Regions from separate parts of the Homo sapiens genome. Here region 2 is linked to region 1. The links are contacts of gene promoters, found by promoter capture Hi-C in human tissues and cell types (Jung and others, 2019). All regions are on one chromosome and are shown on one strand. The core of a region is centred on a gene start or on the middle of the fragment in contact, and the rest is flanking DNA. Distances in the headings are between cores, read along the strand shown.

What was found. The method cuts DNA at HindIII sites, captures the fragments that hold promoters and counts their contacts. A contact is called where the count stands out against the background at its distance.
Region 2: a contact is called between a fragment that was not itself captured here and the fragment with the promoter of KIAA0408 in region 1, in 2 of the 25 tissues and cell types used here (ovary and pancreas).

Annotation. Positions count from the first base shown.
Region 1 is chr6:127,456,520-127,460,674 of GRCh38, reverse strand. It overlaps KIAA0408, which reads left to right and starts at 1,286. Exons shown (of 6, transcript NM_014702.5): 1 at 1,286-1,500. The region is part of intron 7 of SOGA3-KIAA0408 (SOGA3-KIAA0408 readthrough); the gene reads left to right. The HindIII fragment of the contact is 15,174 bases long and covers 1-4,155 here.
Region 2 is chr6:127,225,895-127,230,288 of GRCh38, reverse strand. It overlaps LOC124901398 (a long non-coding RNA gene), which reads left to right and starts at 1,274. Exons shown (of 2, transcript XR_007059749.1): 1 at 1,274-4,394. The HindIII fragment of the contact is 3,413 bases long and covers 1-3,179 here.

The DNA.
Region 1 (4,155 bases), core at 37-2,536:
TGAGCCTTGCTTGGGTTTTATCAGTAAGATCAGATTATCAGTATCTAGAGACAGAATTGCTCTGAGGGTGAACTCAGATAAAGGTCTGTTCAAAGTACTTAGCACAGAACCTTGCAGAGGGTTGCCCCTCAGTGAATAATCACTATTATTACTATAACTATCACTGTTATTGTTGTTATTGCTGTTGAGATTATGATGTCAGGCTTTCCAGACACAGAGTATGGTTTCATTTGATTGTCCTACATGTATTAAAGTCCTACTGTGAGCAGGTTACTATTACTAAACTTTAGCTCCTCATGAAATGTTTATCTGGAAGCAGGTGAAAATAATGTGAGTGAATATGTATTACTTTAAAGACCACACCAGGGAAGCTCTTCAGACTTGAAGATAAGACCTTATTGTTTAAACTTGTGTATTTGCTAAGTTAGGCAAAAAATTGCTCTAGAGACTTTTTTGACTAAATTAAACCAAATATCATCAGATGCATGTGTGTACAAAGCCACAATAAACCTGAAAATGTCGCTGGGGAGGCAAGATCTCCTAGCATTTCAGAACAGGCTGATTTGATCATGATTTAGAGAGCTTTTCCATACACTTAGGCTGCTTTCTCTTCCTATGGCTGCAGCACACTTTAGTGGAAAATAAGCCCATAGGTATCTCATTTTTGGGGTGTGTGTGTGTGTGTGTTTTGTCCTCCCACAATAAGAAATCTCATCCTTTCCCATGGGCTCTGATTTTCTCTAACGTAAAGACATCGCTACTACTGTAGATAAAAGCAACACACTGTCAGAATCACAGAGAGCTAAGAGGTTGGACTTTATGTTCCATTTCTATTTTATTTGAAGATAGAAGTTTGATAACTTTCACAGATCTTTTGAGAGTGCATAATATATATAATTATGCTACACATATTGTTCTGCCACATCCAGATGCAAACTTCTAAAGGTGCAGCAGAGTACATCCTGCCACCAGCTGAGAAGGAGAAAGAATTATGGAAGGAGGGAGATAATTCTTGCCTATAAAAAAATGAGTTTACTTTCCTAATAAAATAAATCTAAAATTGGCCATTGTCATTGTATGATGTTAACAACCAGCTCTTTTGGCAAGTTTGAAAATACTGGGCTCCATTATAAAAGCTAAAAATGTCCTGGACCTGGAGTTGTTTACCCAGAGCATGAGCTGCTCTAAAGTTACAGAGCTCTGGTTGGAAGAGGTGGCTTGAAGGCCGCCTCCAAGTAACTGACGTCACAGTAGTCTCAGCTGCTGCTGTGACACTAAGCTGAGCAGCTTTTTGACTTGTAAAAGTGGTGAAGGTTTCAAAGGGACTTGTCAGTACTGCTCTGTGGAATGGTTGGACTTATTTTGCATCCCCTTTTCTTGTAAAGAATCGAGATTCACCGAGCTGAGACTTTTCTCTTTAAGACAGCTAGCCATCCACTTTCTTCCACTGCTAATTGACCAGTGGTCGAGCATCCATAGGATTTCTCCCCAGTGTGAAAGGTATGTTTCTTTCCGGCAAGTTTACAAGCAAGTGACTAATTATGGCAGGATACAAAGGGGCTGCTGTTGAGATGTTTTAAACTATGGATACTGTTTAAGTGGAGTGTAATTTCAACATCTGTCTCTGCTGTTGTCTGTGTCTGGGCTTAAAAACAGTGGGCGGGGTGCATAACAGATTGTACTGACTCCTAGGAAAAAGGCTGTTCAGCTGCTCAGGGTGGATTTCCCAACTGTGGACTGACAGTACCATCCGCTCTTTGAGACTGTTTTTCCAACACTGCTTCTCAGTTGTTTGAAAAGCACTTTGCCCATCATTGATTTTCACTAAGTATATTTATTCAAATGTGATTTTTTTTATTCATATAAAGACTTTTAACATTTGCAAATTAAAGGTCACAATCCTGGAGACTTGGTATTTGAAAATTGCGGTGAAAAATAAATTTTAGTTTTATCTAAGGTGGTGGTGGACTCACTGTAGAGTTAGTGTTTCTGTAATTTGAGCTGAAGTCTATGCCATTCATAATTGAATAATCTACGTTTAGGAGGGAAACTTACCACTATGTCTTTTGTTCACGATGGTTAGTTTTAGACATTTGTTTACTCAAACCAAATGTTTGCTTTTAAAGTTTGCATTTTATAAGTAAAATCAGTGTGCATACAGCTTGGATGTTTTCTAATTTGAGTAAATAACTGTAAAGAAAACAAGGAAGAAGATAATTAAATGAAACGGTAAAGTTGATTCATTCGGAATTGCATGTGGTAGTGTCTCTTTGACCTTGTTGGAGCATGAGGAATGTGCTAAATCAGCAATACACAGCAATGAAAAAAATTTCCCTTTTACTCTAACAAAATCAAATCATGGTGGTCTTTGGAAAGATTCAATTGCAAGTGAACAATAGAGAGGAATGAGATTTATTAATTCATTGAAATAATTCAAGTGATTATAATAGCCTGGAGAAAGGGATAGAGAATTTAGGAGGTAAATGGTACATTACTCTGATAGGTTATAAGCTGGGGAATTCCTAATCCATCAAAGTTAAGCAGAAGCAAAACATCTTCAGGCCAAATGAGTCTTCTAGGAATTGTGAGATTAGCAGTACCTACTGTGTGTGGCATTTCTATTGGAATATGTAACCTCTTATAAATGAAAAATCTTTAATTATGTGAAAAGTGATATGTTTAGCAAAAGGAAATAAGGACAGCAAGAAACAAGTACTCTAAACAATAATCTAAAAAGAGAGAAGTAGCAATGGAGCAGCTGCCCCTAAGGAACGCTGTTTAGTTTGTTTGGATGCAGTCCAGTTTTCAATGGGCGAGTTGGAGGTTGAAAGGGTAGTGACCCAGGTGTCCTAAGAATGGAGCACCCCTCAGAGAAAGAATTGCTGCCATGACCAAACTGAGGCTAATTTGGGGGTGAAAATAATTTCTTGTGAGACTTGTGTGTTACTCTTAAACTTTGCTTACTGGTAGGGCCGGAAGGCTAGCAGAACTATTTGCCTCCCATCACCATACTTATGCAACCCACTCACAACTCTTTATAATTCTGGCTTTCAGCCCTGGAAAGGGGAAGTAAGTTAAAAGGGATTATGCAATGCTGGTTTAGAGTTGGGGTGTGTGACTAAGTAATGCAGCTCACTCTGTCCTCTTACATTTGCTCTAATAAATTTTTATTCTGAAATGGAATTCTAGAAGGAAGAACATAAACTGGAGAGCCAAAGAGATATGGGGTAGGGGATGCAGATAGCAGAAATCCTTCCTTCTCTCCCACATAGATGCCAGTATCTGTGGGAGAAAATGAGTGACAACTAGGAACAAAAAGAACTTTTATTTTTGCCCCAGTAGAGAGCACTTAAATTGAGTTTTTGAATCTGCTGAACCACTTTACCCCATAACTTCTCATTACGAAACATTCTATCTCTACAAAGTTGCCCCTTCAGTTTGATATTTTTTGTAATATTTAAGTCAGATTTATAACAAAAGCAGTTTTACATAAGATTTGTTCACATTTTTATTAACAATAAAACTTTTTTCTTTAAATATGTGACATGTATCTTTAAAATATTTGAAAAAAGGCAAAAGAAGATCATGGAGAATATGAGAGTTCACACAATTACACTTGCTTCTATCTCGTTTTAAAATAAAGACCAAAATAATCTGTTTTTTTTCCAGAGAACAACATGGAGAGGGATAGATGGAGAAAGAGAGGAGAAAGGGAAGGAGGGAGGAAAGACAAGAAGAGGAAGGGAGGGAACAAAGGACAGAAGGAAGAAAACAAGAACCAAGTATTTTTCAGGCATTTGCTATGATCCAGAGCAGTGTTTAGGCACTTCTTTTAAGCATTTTTCCCTTTTGCTCACTTAATCTCCAAAACAATTCTATGCCCCCCCCCCACCACTTTATATTTAGAGGTGGAAGCAATATGTTTGGCTGCGTTACATCTAACATTATATTTACGACAAGACTGAGATGCTAAGAAGGCCAAATCCTTCCACAAAAAATTGGCACAGATATTGCTCTATAGAAATGTTCTTGCAAAGGCTTGTTTCTGATCCATAACTATTACATTTCTTGGCACTAGCAATTGCTCTGGGCCTGGAAAGGAAAAGCTCCATACATTGGTCCTTCTCCATATTAAGGGATGAGTTTGGCTCTTTG
Region 2 (4,394 bases), core at 224-2,723, 230 kb after region 1:
TGCTGTTAGTCTGATGGGCTTCCCTTTGTGGGTAACCCGACCATTCTCTCTGGCTGTTCTTAACATTTTTTCCTTCTTTTCAACCTTGCTGAATCTGACAATTATGTGTCTTGGAGTTTCTCTTCTCAAGGAGCATCTTTGTGGTGTTCCCTGTATTTCCTGAATTTGAATGTTGGCCTGTCTTGCTAGGCTGGGGACGTTCTCCTGGATAATATCCTGAAGAGTGTTTTCCAACTTGGTTCCATTCTCCCCATCACTTACAGGTACACCAATCAAACGTAGATTTGGTCTTTTTACATAGTGCCATATTTCTTGGAGGCTTTGTTAGTTCCTTTTCATTCTTTTTTATCTAATCTTGTCTTCATGCTTTATTTCATTAAGTTGATCTTCAATCTCTGATATCCTTTCTTTCGCTTGATCGATTCGGCCATTGATACTTGTGTATGCTTCATAAAGTTCTCATGCTGTGTTTTTCAGCTCCATCAGGTCATTTATGTTCTTCTCTAAACTGGTTATTCTAGTTAGCAATTTCCTTAGCCTTTTTTCAAGGTTCTTAGCTTCCTTGCATTGGGTTAAAATATGCTCCTTTAGCTCTGAGGAGTTTGTTATTACCTACCTTCTGAAGCTTGCTTCTGCCAATTCGTCAAAGTCATTCTCCATCCAGTTTTGTTCTCTTGCTGGTAAGGATTTGTGATCCTTTGGAGGAGAAGAAGCATTCTGGTTTTTGGAATTTTTAGCCTTTTTGCACTGGTTTTTCCTTATCTTTGTGGATTTATCTACCTTTGGTCTTTGATGTTGGTGACCTTCGGATGAGGTTTCTGTGTGGATGTCCTTTTTGTTGATGTTGATCCTATTCCTTTCTGTTTGTTAATTTTCCTTCTAACAGTCAGGCCCCTCTGCTGCAGGTCTGCTGGAGTTTGCTGGAGGTCAACTCCAGACATTGTTTGCCTGGGTATCACCAGCGAAGGCTGCAGAACAGCAAAGATTGCTGCCTGTTCCTTCATCTGGAAGCTTCGTCCCAAAGGGGCACCCACCAGATGCCAGCTGGAGCTCTACCGTATGAGGTGTCTTTCAACCCCTGCTGAGAGGTGTCTCCCAGTCAGGAGGCACGGGGGTCGGGGACCCACTTGAAGAGGTAGTCTGCCCCTTAGCAGAGCTCAAGCACTGTGCTGGGAGATCTGCTGCTCTCTTCAGAGCTAGCAGGCAGGAACTTTTAAGTCTGCTGAAGCTGCACCCACAGCCACCCCTTCCCCCAGGTGCTCTGTCCCAGAGAGATGGTAGTTTTATCTATGAGCCCCTGACTGGGGCTGCTGCCTTTTTTTCAGTAATGCCCTGCCCAGAGGGGAGGAATCTAGGGAGACAGTCTAGCTACAGTGGCTTTGCCTAGCTGCAGTGGGCTCCACCTAGTTCGAACTTCCCGGCGGCTTTGTTCACACTGTGAGGGGAAAATCACCTACTCAATCCTCAGTAATGGTGGTTGCCGCTCCCCCTACCAAGCTCGAGCATTACAGGTCAACCAGACTGCTGTGCTGGCAGCAAGAATTTCAAGCCAGCGGATCTTAGCTTGTTGGGCTCTGTAGGGGTTGGATCCACTGAGCTAGACCACTTGGCTCTCTGGCTTCAGCCCCCCTTTCCAGGGGAGTGAATGGTTCTGTCTCGCTGGCATTCCAGGCACCACTGGGGTATGGAAAAAAAACTTCTGCAGCTAGCTTTGTGTCTGCCCAAATGGCTGTCCAGTTTTGTGCTTGATGCCCTGGGCCCTGGTGGCATAGGCACCTGAGGGAATCTCCTGGTCTGCAGGTTGCAAAGACCATGGGAAAAGTGTAGTAACTGGGTCGGAGTGCACCATTTCTCATGGCACAGTCCCTCATGGTTTCCCTTGGCTAGGGGAAGGAGTCCTTCTACCCCTTGCATTTCCTGGGTGAGGTGATACCCCACCCTGCTTCGGCTTGCCCTCCATGGGCTGCACCCACTGTCTAACCAGTCCCAGTGAGATGAGCCAGGTACCTCAGTTGGAAATGCAGAAATCACCCGCCTTCTGCATTGATCTTGCTGCTGGGAGCTGCAGACCGGAGCTGTTCCTGTTCGGCCATCTTGCCAGCCCTATTGTTTTATATTATTACCAGTGTTTGGTTGGTTAATGAAGTGCATGATTGGTTTATGTGTGTGCATTAGTAAATTTAACCTTTCTTATTGAATATCTTTTATGTATAAAGCTTTCTGGTTTGTATTTTGGGGACATGGGGTTAGTTTTCTTCTTTTCATGAGCTTATAATCAAGTATGGGAGACAGACATAAACACAAATGACTCTTAAATAAGGCATCAAATTAAAATGCCAAAATAGTTCTTAGAGAAGACTGGGTGCCTTTGGAAGGCTGAGGTGGGAGGATCACTGGAGGTCAGGAGTTCGAGACCAGCCTGATCAATATGGTTAAACCTGTCTCTTTTAAAAATACAAAAATTAGCTGGGCATGGTGGCAGGCACCTGTAATCCCAGCTACTTGGGAGGCTGAGGCAGGAGAATTGCTTGAACCCAGGAGGCGGAGGTTGCAGTGAGCTGAGATCACACCACTGCACTCCAGCCTGGGTGACCAAGCTAGACTCCATCTCAGGAAAAAAAAAAAAAGTTCTTAAAGAAAAAAACACAACATACTCCCCTTAAAAACAAGGAATTCTGAGGGAGAGGTTAATTATACTTGTGGGGTCTACATGGAGAGTCTTGAGAATACTTGGAGAGAGAGAGAAGAAAAACAGAACTGGCAACCAAATTCTGGAAATATAGCAAAGAGAAAATGCCAGAGTAAGGGAATATAAAAAAATAGATATAATGGTGTATTTTAAGTATTCTTCTGTTTTAGAAGACAACCAACTTATTGGGAACTTTCTTTTGTGGTACTACTTGCATTTTTAAGTATATTAGTTTTACGTTGTGGAGAATCATTTAAAAATAATTGTTATCTAAAGAATATGCTTAGTCACAAAAACAGTCATTGGAATCATAAAATATTTTACTTTTCAATCTATTCTATTACTGTTAAATTCTATTCACCTTTATATTCATTCTATTTCTATTAACAATAATATCTTCTAAATCTTCACGTACATGAAAAATGTGTAAGCAAACAGAAAATTTTCAAGTCAAACGCTGGTCAATTCAAATCCACAAGAGAGCAAACAGTACTTCTAAAAATAAGTTTTTTAAAAAACCATAATGTAACATGTCTTCATATTTAACGACAATACATAATCATATGAGGAACATATGGATATTATTTTATCTGTTTTAGAAATTAAAGTTCTAGAACACAGATATTTAACCAGATTCATGTGCTGTATATATGGGTTTTTGTATTTTATTGTAGTTCCTTACTTGCATCATATTATAGTTGAAATAATATTAATAATAATTATTATGATTTATTGAATGGCTCTTATGTGCTATCTACATGATATATCTTTTCTTAAATGATCCTAACAACTCTAGAAAATAAGTAGTACTAACTTCATATTAAGTATGACTTAAACAAGTCATGCACTTTGCAAATGATATGGCAGATTTCTGCTTGACCACACAGTGAATGCTTTGTCCAAACCACCTATTTTGCTTTGAACTATTCTATTTTGGCCTGGGAAGGGGAATTACTGCTGATGTGATTGGTTAATGGTTAGTCCTATTACACCAGGCTTGTATCCATTGCTACCTTTTTGTATGTCTCTGAATTATCAAACGAACAGGAGCCTCCTGACTGAGACTATGTACTATTAATGGATCATATGTATCCAGATATATTTACAGATAGAATACATTTCAGAAACATAAAGGACAATAAAAAATGGCAGAATTTACAATCTTAACAACATGGTTGCAGAAGCAGAACGGGAAAGTCATGTAGGCAGTCAAGGTAATACGCACAATGTAAACATGTCATCTAGGACATGAAGAAAACCTTTTGGGCCAAGTAGTACAGCATGTTTAGTTAGATCTAAACAAATGTGCATGACTATAACCCCAAATCTGTAATTTCATTTCTTTCCTTTTCCACAATTATCCAATCTTCAGTTTTACCAGTAGTATCAGAGACATTTTCTGCTCTTAAACTCTAGCTATCTGTGACACTTCCTTCTGGAAAGTGTCCAAAGCTTGAACCCTCCCTAGTTTCTCACACATCTGTGCATTATTAGCCTGTTTCTGGTCAAATCGTGTGGCAGATGAACAACAGCCACAAATTCTTTGACATTCTTCCTATAGGGAGGTAGGGCCTATTTGCTATCTCCTTGAATCTGGGCTGCCATTAATCTCTTTCCACTAATGGAGTGCAGTGTTAGGGATTATGACAGTTGTAGACCTTGTTTCTATGAGATTGACAGCTTCTACTTCAGTCTCCTAAAGCCC